Regions from separate parts of the Homo sapiens genome. Here region 2 is linked to region 1. The links are contacts of gene promoters, found by promoter capture Hi-C in human tissues and cell types (Jung and others, 2019). All regions are on one chromosome and are shown on one strand. The core of a region is centred on a gene start or on the middle of the fragment in contact, and the rest is flanking DNA. Distances in the headings are between cores, read along the strand shown. Region 1 holds the start of FAM177A1 (family with sequence similarity 177 member A1). Region 2 overlaps RALGAPA1 (Ral GTPase activating protein catalytic subunit alpha 1).

Region 1 (6,718 bases), core at 1-2,500:
CCGCCTTGGCCTCCCAAAGTGTCTTTTTGTCTAATACTGAAAAGTTGCAAGAAACGTTAACTCTCTAAACCAGCGCTGTCCAATACAGTAACCACTAGCCACATGTGGCTAATGCGCACTTGAAATGTGGTCAGCCAGAACTGCGATATGCTATGCGTGTAAAATGCACCCAGGATTTAAAAGACTTAGAAAAGACTCCAAAAGAGAATGCAAATACTTCATTAATAACTTTCATAGTAATTTTAGGTTGAAATTGTTTTGATAAATTAGGTTAAATAAGATATGCTATTAAAATTAATATCGGTTTCACTTTTTTAAAACGTGCCTACTGGAAAATTTTAAATTACAATTTTCAATGCAGCTTGCATTCTATTTATGTTGGACAGCGCAGCTCGGAGCCTTAGTTGCCTCGGCGGTGAAATGGGGCTAACACCCACCTCGAGCGGTTACTGTAAGGATCCAGTGAATTAAAGCTGGTAAACGTTTGGCATATGCCAAGCAAAGGGCAGATGCCCAGGCAGGCGCTCGCACCAGAAGAGACTGAGAAGTGGTTGAAGCCGCCCTCACCTGGCTTCCAGCTACTGCAAGGACAGCCTTTGGGGGACACGCCTTTCTTCTTCCTCTGGTAGACCAGAAGCTGGACTATCACCCCAGGAACCCGAGGCCGCCCCAGAGTCTGCTGTGCTGCCAGCCAAGGGGTTGGTGAGTGAGGCGGGGGGCGCTCCTTCCCACAAGCTGGTCTCAGTGAGCAGAAACAGGGGTGCAGTGAGGAGGAACTCCAAAGCTGGGGCGGCCTGCTCGGAGGACGGCCGCGCAGGCTAAAAGAGCGGCCCGCGGAGAAGGCAAGGAGGCGGCTCGGCTCCCCGGACGTCAGCCTCGGCGGCCCCACCTACCTGCCCTGCAGATTCCCCGAATGCCGCGGCGGCCGCAGCTCCCGAGGCTGCGACGGCTTCTCCTCGTTCCACACCGCCCACTGGCTCCTGGTCCATCGTCGTCGCCACCACAGGGCTGCTGGCGCTGGTGAGAAAGAGGGTAATGGCCGGTAAGCCCACTTCCATCCTTGGTCTCCCCGCCCAGTCGCTGGCCGAGCCAGGCTGTCGGGAAGTGGGACTCACCCGCCCAGCGCCCGCCTCGCGCCGCGCCTAGCCAAGTCTCTGAGAAGGGGACTCGCCGGCCTGAGGGGCGGGGCCAGCCCGCGCCTCGCCTAGCCCGCCGGGCTCCGCACCCCGAGAGCTGGCCAACTGCAGTCTGGGAGGCGCAACTACCGGCTCGCGCGGGGCGGGGCGGGGCGGGGCGGGTCCTTGCGGGGCGTCGCTTCCGGCCAAGCAAGCATCCAGAGCTCGTGGATCCCCGCCTGGCACCGCCTGTGACGTCATTTCTGGTACGTGTACCTGAAGCCTGGCGTCTCGACCTCGGCGCAGCCCGTCACCAGCGGCGTCTGGGGCAGTCACCCCGCAGGACCTCGGTTTTTGCACTTGTAAAATGAAGACAGCTGTGTCGTTGTACTTCAAAGGCTAGTGATGGGATGTGGTTGCTGAAAAATGTAAAATGTACGGCTCGTGCTGCACTTTCCATTCCAAACGTGGGTGACAGTCCAGCCAAAATACCCTCGAAAGAAGAACCCCAGGCGTGATATTTGCTTACTCTTGTCTGAAATACTTAAGTATAACTGTAGAAAGTGTTAAGTGAAAAGACCTGAAGGAGAGCAAAGGGCAGTAGTAAGCTTCCATCTTGACAAATGTAAGGAATGTTTTATCTGTGTCTTAAAGTCGTGTGCGTATGTTAGAGGGGGCGTCCCAGATTTTTTCCGTCTTTCGCAATGTTCAACGAAAGTAAAAAATCATGCAATTACTGCATGACTTCAACATCAAACAAGTCTGAGGTTCTGCAGGTAAATGGTATATTGTTGTTTTAGCATGAAAGTTTTCACAAATATGTAGGGGGCAAAACCAAAACATACATTATTTTGGCTATGGGAGGCTTCATTTGATACTTTAAATTCCATTTTCATACTAGTCTCAATTCAGAAATGCTCCCTAAAGTTGTATGACCTTGTAAATGTTTTTCATCATAGCAACAGCAGGCCCAAATATTAAATATTCCTTTCTCTTCTGTGCCAAAGTTCTTCTCCTTACCCTCTGCCTAATGTTATTGTACACTTCCTATTCTATGTATAACTGGAACCTAAAAACAAAACCAAAAACTTTAAAAAACAAATAATCATTTGAAAACCATCTACGCCTTAAAAACTAGTTGGAAATCCATATTGCTCTCTATCCTGGTAATAAAATCAAGTTAGGTTGCTGCTGAAGTAAACAAGTTAGTACCTGATCTGACTCTGTATGGTGGCATCAGCAGGGAGTTGAGACAGTCCAAAACAGCAAAACCAAACTCGGCCATAAATTGAAAACAAAAATAAAGAACCAATTGTTAAGACTTCATGAATTGGCATTCATAAACAACACAGTTCTGCATTATATGTATTCAAAATCTCTTCCTTCTTACTGGCAAGCAGGGCAATCAACAATCTTTATTACTAAAACTTTGTGGGATATTTATAAATGCATGATTTTATTTTCCAAAGTGGCAATTAAATATCAAATTACAATTTTCTTTTTCTTTTTTTTCTTTTTTTTTTTTTTTGAGATGGGGTCTCACCCACGCTGGAGTGCAATGGCGCAATCTTGGCGCACTGCAACATCCGCCTCCCGGGTTCAAGCGATTCCCCCACCTCAGCCTGCCAAGTAGCTGGGATTACAGTTGTGCACTACCACGCCCGGCTAATTTTTGTATTGTTAGTAGAGACGGGGTTTCACCATGTTGGCCAGGCTAGTATCGAACTTCCGACCTCAGATGATCCACCCACCTCAGCCTCCCAAAGTGCTGGGATTACAGGCGTGAGCCACCACGCCTGGCCTCAAATTACAATTTTCATTGCCGAAGCAGAATATATTTTCACAGTTTACATGTGTATTTCTTAGTTTACTGAAAATTCAAAGTACAAGTTACATTCTAACGTGAACTGGAAGTATTTCCTAAAAAGTTATTTTTAACACAAATATCCAATTGAAGAGCAGTTTATTACAAATCAACAACTCGGGCTGGGCACGGTGGCTCACGCCTGTAATCCCAGCACTTTGGGAGGCGGAGGCGGGTGGATCACGAGGTCAGGAGATCGAGACCATCCTGGCTAACACGGTGAAACCCCGTCTCTACTATAAAATACAAAAAATTAGCCGGGCGTGGTGGCGGGCGCCTGTAGTCCCAGCTACTCGGGAGGCTGGGGCAGGAGAATGGCGTGAACCCGGGAGGCGGAGCTTGCAGTGAGCCGAGACCGCGCCACTGCACTCCAGCCTGGGCGACAGAGCGAGACTCCGTCTCAAAAAAACAAAAACAAAACAAATCAACAACTCAAAGCAACATAAAAGCATAGAAATTCTAATGGTTTTATTTTGGACATTTATATTTTTGTCATTATTTCCAAACTGTTATAGCTCAACCAAAAGTAGGCACCAAGGCAATGTGCCAAATTTTTCCTTCTTTCACTTTGTAACATAAATTGTATCGTAGCACTATGACAAAAATAAATTCAAGTATTATGATAATTTATCTACTTGAAAACATAATGTGGTCTAAATTTATCATTTAATGATACATATAGAGCTAAAAAGGTAAATTTGGATTGAACCATTTCTGCGTAAGGCTGGGAAAATAAATCTGAATAAAATTTGATAACCAGGAATGTTCATCAAATAAACAAGACATTCTTAGGGTTTTAACATAGCTACATATATATACTTTGATAGAGAATTTTTTAAGTTATCCATCAAACAGGACAATATATTTTCATCAAAAATAATGCACAAGAAAAAAAGATGATAAAAATAAAAATGCATTTTAGGTTCAGTCTAAGCATAAAGAAATTTTTTTTTTTTTTTTGAGACAGGGCCTTACTGTATCACCCAGGCTGGAGTGCAGTGGCACAATTATGGCTCACTGCAGACTCAGACGATCCTCCCACCTCAGCCTCCTGAGTAGCTGGCGTGTACCATCACACCTGGCTAATTTTTATATTTTTTGTAGAGATGAGGTTTTGCCATGTTGCCCAGGCTGAATAAGTTATTAAAATCATGGTAGTGGTTTCACTTATGGAGCACAATATGCCAGGTACTTTGCTTTCTTTGTATTAACTCTTATTCCTCACAACAATTCTGAAGTATTACTGTAACTACCAACATGTTATAGATGAGGAAACAAAGAGAAGTTAAGCAACTTGCTCCAGTGACGCAGCTGGTAAGCAGCAGAGCTGGGATTAAAACCCAGGCATTCTGATTCCACCACCTACACACTTAGCCATTCCGCCCCACTGAGAATGAAAATGTCAAAAAATACTAGGCCAGTAAGTGTTAGCAAGGCAAGAAATTTCCACACCAAAGGTGAGTATGTTGTTTGGAAAGATTGGGATGGAAATGAGTAAAGTATGTTTCTTTTTAAAAGTCTTTTAGTAAGCTTTAAAGCTCTATATGTAAGAAGCAGATGAAAATACCAAGTGAATTTTTAGATTTGATGTTATGTAAGGTTTTGTTTTGTTAATTAAAATTTGGTCATTTTGTGTGTGTGTGTGTCTGTGTGTGTGTGTGTGTGTGTGGTGAGAATATACCAGTGATATCCAATCACCAAAATTTTCTTTTTTTTTTTTTTGAGACAGTCTCACTCTGTCAGCCAGGCTGGATTGCAGTGGCGTGCTCTTGGTTTACTGCAGCCTCGATCTCCTAGGCTCAAGTCATCCTCCCACCTCGGGTCCCAAGCTGGGACTACAGGCACACATCACCACACCCAGCTAATTTTTGTATTTTCCCAGAAAGGGGTTTCACTATGTTGGCCAGGCTGGTCTCAAACTCCTGGCCTCAAGTGATCCACCCGCCTCAGCCTTCCAAAGTGCTGGAATTACGGGTGTGAGCCACCATGCCCGGCCTAGAATTTTCTGTATGGTATTAGGCATAAAATAACTAGCTTTCTTTGCACACTATGCTAGACTCAGTAATTTTAATGTTGGAGAGCTGTGCATCTTCATCTAAAATCTGTAGAACCCTGAGTGTCTTCTGATAAGAATCTATAACAAATATAAAGATATAATCCTTTTTTTTTTTAGACAGAGTCTTGCACTGTCACCTGAGCTGGAGTGCAATGGCACGATCTTGGCTCAATGCAACCTCCACCTCCCGGCTTCACGTGATTCTCCTGCCTCAGCTTCCCGAGTAGCTGGGATTACAGGCGCACACCACCACACCCAGCTTATTTTTTGTACTTTTAATAGAGATGGGGTTTCACTATGTTGGCCAGACTGGTCTCGAACTCCTGACCTGGTGATCCTTCCACCTTGGCCACCCAAAGTGCTGGGATTACAGGTGTGAGCCACTGCGCCCAGCAAAGATATAATCCTTTAAGGGATTATATTATTGATTCTGTTAAAGACAAATTATCTTTATTATAATAAAGACATAATCCTTGAAAGGATTATATTATTGATCTTTAAAGATCATGATTAAGAATGCCTCACCTCTCAGAGCAAGATCATACTTTTTTTTAACACAGTAAGAAGGAAATTGCAAAAAAACAAGGGACACACACCAACTGAAGAGTTTCACATTCTTATTTCCTACCAAGTGGAATGTCAAGAAACATGCAGCTATTTCTTGTACCAATTCTGACAGAATTGAGATTATGAACCCCTTAATTGATTTCCCAAGGTCAGAAAGCGTGGGCCAATGATGATATCCAATAACAATTCCCACCTCTTTTGGGTCACTGAGGAACAAGTTTCCCTGTCTATATAAAAGCATAAAACACAAGCAAACATTCCTGAAATATGGAAACATGCAGACATTATATGTTCTCACTTGATGCAGATATGAGACCTCTCTCTGGAAAAAGGCTCACAAAACTTTAGCATATCTTGCTTAAGAAAAATAGTCCGCAGTCACAGGCTGCAAAGGAAAAGCCTATATACAGCAATGTCAGAGGAATCTCAGACCTCAGGTAGGGGAGTTTCTTAGTGTCAGATTCACCTGAATCATCCCTCTTACAAACAAGTATTACTGTGCAATTTCTTGACTGTTTTTCCACTTATGATCCAAGTGGTACCAACAATGCACTGTGTTAGGCTAATGAGAGAACCTTTTAAGCCAAGTGAAGCTAAAAGATATAACATGCTCTTCAAATGAAGAGAGAAAAATGTAATGAAAGGACTGCAAAAAGTAGCATATGCATGCCAAACTCAAAAGAACCTATATGACCGTCAGCACCACATTAATAAAAGGAAATGTACCATAGTTACCAGCTTACAAGACATATTTTTACTTTAAAAGACTCCAAAAATTGGCCAGGTGCGGTGGCTCACACCTGTAATCCCAGAACTTTGGGAGGCCGAGGCGGGTGGATCACGAAGTCAGGAGATCGAGACCATTCTGGCTAACACGGTGAAACCCCGTCTCTACCAAAAATACAAAAAATTAGCCGGGCATGGTGGCGGGCGCCTGTAGTCCCAGCTACTCGGGAGGCTGAGGCAGGAAAATGGCGTGAACTCGGGAGGTGGAGCTTGCAGTGAGCCGAGATGGCACCACTGCACTCCAGCCTGGGCGACAGAGCAAGACTCCGTCTCAAAAAAACAAACAAACAAACAAACAAAAAAACTCCAAAAATTATATTGTATTAAATA
Region 2 (7,151 bases), core at 2,546-5,045, 650 kb before region 1:
TTTATATAATAGAAGTCTTGTAAAAGATGACTTAGGAAGATAATCAGAGCATTGACTTTTAATTTCCCATTGTTTTGACTAATAATATCGTAAATCTTGAATAATTTATTCTGCATTATCTATAGTAATGGAACTAAGTAAGGGTAATCAGTATTTGGGAAAAGTATATAATCTAAAAGTTGCTTTGGAATAAATCTTTGTATTTATATTACATATAATCATATATAGAATTCTAAGGATTCACTCATTTTTAAACCATTCTGTGAAGCCCTAACTTCCAAGGAGCTTCAAAACCTGCTTAGCTTTCCAGTTCTGCCTCAGGTCGTTGGTCCCCAGTACTGGCACGGTCTGCTCTTCTATTAAGCTTTAATTAACATGTAATAAAATGCATAGATCCATAGACTCAACTGAATGATTTTTGAAAATTGTACATACCCCTATTAACCATCACCACAAACAAATTATAGGACACTTCCACTACCTCAAAAAGTTTCCCAGTGACCTTTTTGAGTCAATCACCACACACTCCTCCCCTCCACGCAAATACAACTTTTTGCTGTTCATCACCATAGATCAGTTTTGTTTAAAAAAAATTTTTTTGGCATAAATAAAATGATTGTGCATACTGTGCTAGCTCAAAGAAACCTACTTGTTTTGTTAACTTTGGAACCATAATATAATTAATTAGAAATGGTTTATAAGAAATTGGAGTTGATTTTTTAATTGATGACAATAATAGAAAAATTGGCCTCAATTCAAACCTTAATATCCAGTAAGTATTGATGAATGAATGGACGTATTTTACATCAGTGAAATTAGGCAACCTGAATATTTTAAGCTACCAGTACAGAAAATTAGTAAGATTTAAAAATATGTAGATGTAATAATATAAATTTTAATAGATGGTAGAAAATGGCACACAATTTTGTTACGTATGATGCTTAGCTACAAATAAAGAATTAGGATATTTTTGTCTCTTTAGTGCACCATTTAAGCACTGTACCTCCTTATGTAAGTAGCACAGATTTTGGTTGCTTACATCAAATTATAATCTACTTAAGTTGGCAAACAATGTTTCTGTTCTTAAAACTGAATTAGATACAGCTAAAAGAAACTCTGAGTTTGTTGTAAACTTCTCTTGGATACATTTTTTGCTCCTAGCTTTTATAAAAGACACACTTAGAGCATTTAATGCAAACCATTCTTGACATGTTTAGAAAAATTAAAATGAGCTTTGAACACTTCCATTATTATTTTATTCTATTTATTTATTTATTTATATCGAGTACAGAATTTGAATTCTCTTGGCCACTAATTCTTAAAAGTTTGATTGGATTAGCCATTCCTCTACTGTTTTAAAAAAACTGTCAGAAAGATTTATTTTTTTCTCCACATCTTAAGGGATTTACAGAATTTCTCATCTGCAACTTAATATATTGGCAAATATTCATGTTAAGTGCTAAAACATTTTTGAATAGCTAAAACAAAGATAAGGTTGTTCCTTTCAAAATATTTTAGAGTGGTGCCATACCCAGGATGAGAAGTTCCTATTTCAGAATTCTTGCTTTGCTGTAAATACATAATTCAGAAAGTTTACCTTTTTAATGATTTTATGATTTAAACATTTATGAGCACTGTTGGAAAGGAATTTTCTAAATGGCAATTTTATTTGTTGTATTCCTTTTCCCTATCTGGGGTAATATGCCTTCTATGATAAATTTAAAGATTTAGATGGTGTTGAGACATCAGTCACTAAAACAAAACAAACTTTATATCTGATTATCAAAATAATGTTCATTTTAGAAAACATGGATTATATGGAAAAGCATATGCAAAAATACACATAATCCTCCAAAACCAGTGATAATTTATTGACAACTTCAGATGCTTTTACTGCCAGTTTTTTATGCTTGTGTACATTTAAAATATAAAAGCATAATTACAGTTATTTTGAATTAAAAATCATTTTTTTCTCTTAGAATTTGAAAGAGGCAAGGAACCTGTCACTTTAAAATAGCAAAATCCCTCCTTTCCTGATTGCAAATGAAGTCAGGATTTTTCAAGCTGATACGTAAATTTAGAACACTTTCCAGGAGATGCAAATAGGTGTGTAGAGGAAAAGATTAAAGATTCATAGTGCAAATCAACATACCAAAGGCCCTTAGAAAACCTGTTAAAAAAAAAAACAAAACTGTTGGCCAGGCACAGTGGCTCACACCTGTACCCCCAGCAACTTTGGGAGGCTGAGGCAGGCAGATCATGAGGTCAGGAGTTTGAGACCATCCTGGCTAACGCGATGAAACCCCATCTCTACTAAAAATACAAAAAAACTAGCCAGGCTTGGTGGCAGGCGCCTGTAGTCCCAGCTGCTCAGTAGGCTGAGGCAGGAGAATGGCATGAACCCAGGAGGTGGAGCTTGCAGTGAGCCGAGATCGCCCACTGCACTCCAGCCTGGGCGACAGAGCAAGACTCCGTCTCAAAAAAAAACAAAACAAAACAAAACAAAAAAAAACACTGTTTATAATTGAATATGTCTCAGACTTATTTAAGCACAGAACACCTTTCCAAGTACACATATTGATATCCTGTGCCATTAAGGTTCCAGAGAGAACCAATATGAAAATTAAGCAGGATTAATCTTCTACCAGTTTACATTGTAGAAATCTAAATTATTGGATTGGTCTTTGCCTCTGCGATTCTTGGAAGCAAATTAAAGACTTGGAATTTGATTCCTCAGGTGTTAGGTGTAGAGCGAAGGAGAGTGGAAGAGATAAGAGAAAATGTATGAGTTATAAGAATAGAGAGTTGTAAAAATAGTGCTAAATTAAAAAACAATCACCAAAATCTTAGATCATCAACCAATCATACTTTTTAATTGCTGATGTTTCTTCCAAGGTTTGACTAAATTTTACTTTAGAATAGTTTAATGTGCAGAGAATTAATAAGAAAGTGAACTGTATGAAGGGGAAAAAGTAAATGGTTTTTCATGCTTTTGTAGCTCTCCCTCATGTGAATTAGCTTAAACGAACTCATAAAATATTTCCTGAGTCTATCTCTGAAATCAGGAAATGAGGTTTCTTCAACTACTTCACCAAAAAAAAACCTCAATGAAACGACTCATAGACAATCTACCTCTAGTTTATGGTTAGAAGTAGAATTTGTTAGAAAAATATTTATCTGATACTTTTGGATAATTGGGGAGGTAAAGGGAAGTCCTTTAAATCCTTTTTTTTTTTTAACGTACCAAAATCTATGAGAAAGGACCATCAGTTTTCTAAGTACCTTATTTGTTCCCAGCCCATTTTTCCTCCTCCAGTGTTCTTGTTCTAACTGTCCATACTACCTGCATTGTTGTAAGTATGATGCTATATGATATAGCTTTATATACAGCTATAGACTAACCTAGTTGAATAGTTGAGTATTCTTGAAGAGTTAAAAAAAAAAATTTTTTTTTTAATTTGCTCTGTTGCCTAGGCTGGAGTGCAGTGGTGCAAACATGACTCACTGCAGCCTTGACTTCCCTGCCTCAGCCTCCCATGTAGCTGGGATCATAGGCACGTGCCACCACATCCGGCTAATTTTTTTATTTTTTTGTAGAGACAGGGTTGTTGCCCAGGGAAATTCTGAACATAAAGTTGCCCAGGCTGGTCTTAAACTCCTGGGCTCAAGTGATCCTCCACACCTTGGCCTCCCAAAATGCTGGGATTACAGGCGTGAGCCACCACACCCAGCCCTTAAAGAGTTTTTCTTAAGCTCTGGGGACCAGTTTGTGGGCATTAGCACTATGTCAATGCACTGTTTCTTAACATCAGACTCATCTATAACAGTTTGAAAAATATGTATCAAATTTGATACAATATGTTGGCTTGCACAAACATCTAATATAATTTATTCTGGTGTCTGGGCAAGTACACTCCTTGGCTTCTCTCTCATTGGCCTTTGATAATTACTTATCATTACTGCACTAGATTGTAGACATTTGGTAACCCAGCCTGACAGTCATTATTTTCCTGATAAACAGATAAGAGAGAAGCCAGAAATCTGAATCATCGTTCTTAAGCAAATTACTTTTACTGCCAAAAGTAACACTTTAGTGAAAAAAGGAATATAAAAGTATATAAACATGGTAGGCAGCTTTGTGTATACTTCCACAAATGTTTCTTATTTAGTATTTTCTAATCAAGTACTATGAGTTTCTCATCCTGAAATTAAGCTTACAGACCCAGTTTCTTTCAACCAGTTCCCAAAACTGATTTGTCATTTTTGTTGCTATTGGACTCTGGTCTATCTAGGCTATAGTATGTAGACTGCTAATGTTGGGGACTGATCTCTTTTTATTAACGATATGTTATTATTTGAATTGAGCTCTTTATACTTCTGTTTTGTGACTGTCAATGAAAAATAAAATAGTATGTCTCACAGGCCTATCCTTTTCCTAAATTCTGCCCAATAAGGAGAATTTTTCATCTCATCAAAGAAGTAGGCCCTTCTTTATACAATCAAGAATTTTTTCCTGTCATCAGTGTAGAATAGGATATTAATATTTTACATATTTTCCACTTGTAATCTGCTGATTATAGCATAATTCCAATTAGATTTTTTTTTTTTAAGAGATAGGGTCTCATTGTGTTGCCCAGGCTTGATTGCTGTGGTGCCATCCTAGCTTACTGCAGCCTGGAACTCCTGGGCTCCAGCATTCCTCCCACCTCAGCCTCCTGGCAAATTAATTTTTTTTTCCTGGAATAATTTACGTTAATTTTTTTGAGACACAGTCTTGCTGTGTCGCCCAGCCTAGAATGCAGCGGTGCAATCTTGGCTCACTGCAACCTCCACTTCCTGGGTTCAAGCAATTCTTGTGCCTCAGCCTCCCGAGTAGCTGGGACTACAGAAGTCCGCCACCATGCCTAGCTAATTTTTTTTTAATTTTTGGTAGAGATGGGGTTTCACCATGTTGGCCAGGCTGATCTCGAACTCTTGACCTCAGGTGGTCCACCCACCTGGGCCTCCCAAAGTGCTGGAATTATAAGTGTGAGCCATTGCGCCTGGCCTGCATTAATTTTTTAAAAAGAACATCTCAAGAAAAATGTGAAGCTAACTTAAACATGACATTATATAGCATAATCATAAGCAAAACACTATACTTTTCTTAACATAAAAAATGTATTGGTAGTTTATGTTCAAAATTTTAAAATCAGGAAAACAATATTAGAATAAAAGAGAAGATAGTCGACTGGGCTAAATTTTAGTGGTTTAAATGAAAACTATTGAGCTTGATTTGTTGCTTTTAAGTCTTTTCATATGATTACAATAATGTAAAAACTGCTTTGAATTACCTGCAAATTGAACATCTAATCTTAAAAAGATAGAATTTTAATAGCCTCTGTTAATAATATTTGAAACATAGATGCTCTATCGTTTTTACTTACCTTGAAGTACATTGCCGTTGTTGCCCAAATAGACAAAAACTTAGGTAATTAGCAGAAAAAAACTGAGTTTCAAAATGGCATCAATTTCTATGTAAACTAGTTTAAATGATATTATGAATTTAGGGACCATAAAAATATTACTGATAGCTAACGTTCGTGCTTGACCAGTAAAATAATTTAACTTTAGTAAAGGGGATTTTGGCCCTTGATTCTATGATTCATTTCAGAAATTATTAAAATTTCTAGTGATATGTTAGTATTTTAACTGAAGAGTTTGTGAGTAACTAACTTGCTTTTTACCAATAAGCAGCTACTTTTTTTTTTTAAGGCGAGCTTTTCTTCTACCAGTATTTATTAAGCCCATACTTATGTGACAGGTCCTCTTTCAATCAATAGAGATATTGCAATGAACAAAACAAAAATCCTCAAGAGACTTAAATCTAGTGGAAAGGAGTACTTTTTTCTTAACATTTTATAAGCTGACAGTATACTTTAATGTACAGCTTTCCTTTCAAACTAACACAGGAAACTTTTTGAACAAAATATTTCCGGGAAAAAACCGGTTTTTTAATCTAGAAATAATTGACCCATTTTAATGCTAAACAGTATTAAGGAAACCCAGAGATAAAACTTGACATTTCTGTAACTTTATAGAGTTTTTAAACTCTAAATTTAAATTTATTTTACCAAAGCATTTTCTCAATGTTCAAAAGCAGTTTGTGTAAATCTCTTGAAAACAACGTTTTTATTGTTTCACTCATTAAGTGGTTTCTAATGCTTTAGATTAACATTTAATTGAAAAGACTATACTTTCAAGCATAATTTCTAAGGTATGTTAGTAGAGGAGTTTCTCTGAACATGGGTGATCGTTCTTCTCTTCCTCTGGGAGAGTAAGAGGACACAGTTGGTTTCCCTTAAGAAAAAGAAAAGAAAGAGAAAAATATATAAAATTTTATTTAAAAGCTTTCATTTTTTAAGTTAAAATATAAGAAGCATAATTAAATTGTTTTGAGGGCATTTTTATTTAAACCTGATGCCACCATTATTTTTAGCAATTCAAAGTTTTTTTATTGGTTCCTTCTGTATAATTTACTAACATTTGTTTTAGTTAGATTTTTATTTCTAACATTCTTATCTTTATAGAGATAAATCACTATGCTGCTCTGTGGTTTTTTTAAAATTCTTTTTTGTTTATATTGAGATATAACTAAAGCCTGGCTTTATGGTTTTTTAATAATACAATTAATTTTTACCAAGTTTTATTTAAAAATTAATAAATTATTTCATGAGTACAAAACATATATGATGTATTATTCAAGAGATTAAGAGTAAAGATTAATTTCTGCCTTACTTGACACCACAACTCCTCACTTTGTAGTTGTGTAATTTTGGACAAGTCACTTAAAGAGTTTCTTCATTTATAAAATAGGCATAGCACCTACTTCATGGGGTTGTTGTGAGGATTAAATGAATGATATGTCAGATGCTTACAACAATACCTGGCATGTGGAAAATACTATATATAGTTTAGTTATTATTTAGTCTTTTTCTCAGTAAAGTTCAGCTGTATATATTTGCTCAACTAATGTAAGGCTTATTAGAGTCAATTATGCTCAATTCAAGTGCCATTTGTATTGACATAATTCAGCCCTCTTGATCTGAATTTAGCATAAAGTTGGTTTCCTGTCAGTGTTATTTTCTTCTTTGATTTTATGTAGTTAGTAT

What was found. The method cuts DNA at HindIII sites, captures the fragments that hold promoters and counts their contacts. A contact is called where the count stands out against the background at its distance.
Region 2: a fragment that was not itself captured here is called in contact with the fragment with the promoter of FAM177A1 in region 1 in 1 of the 25 tissues and cell types used here (lymphoblastoid cells).

Annotation. Positions count from the first base shown.
Region 1 is chr14:35,040,804-35,047,521 of GRCh38, reverse strand. It overlaps FAM177A1 (family with sequence similarity 177 member A1), which reads right to left and starts at 1,250. Exons shown (of 5, transcript NM_173607.5): 1 at 894-1,250. The coding sequence starts at 1,058. RefSeq lists enhancers at 381-440, 541-810, 1,531-1,730 and a silencer at 1,061-1,410. The HindIII fragment of the contact is 5,057 bases long and covers 702-5,758 here.
Region 2 is chr14:35,692,692-35,699,842 of GRCh38, reverse strand. All of the region lies in intron 17 of RALGAPA1 (Ral GTPase activating protein catalytic subunit alpha 1), which reads left to right. Among named protein-coding and RNA genes, the nearest start is that of SNORA101B, 67 kb to the left of the region's middle. The HindIII fragment of the contact is 3,012 bases long and covers 2,290-5,301 here.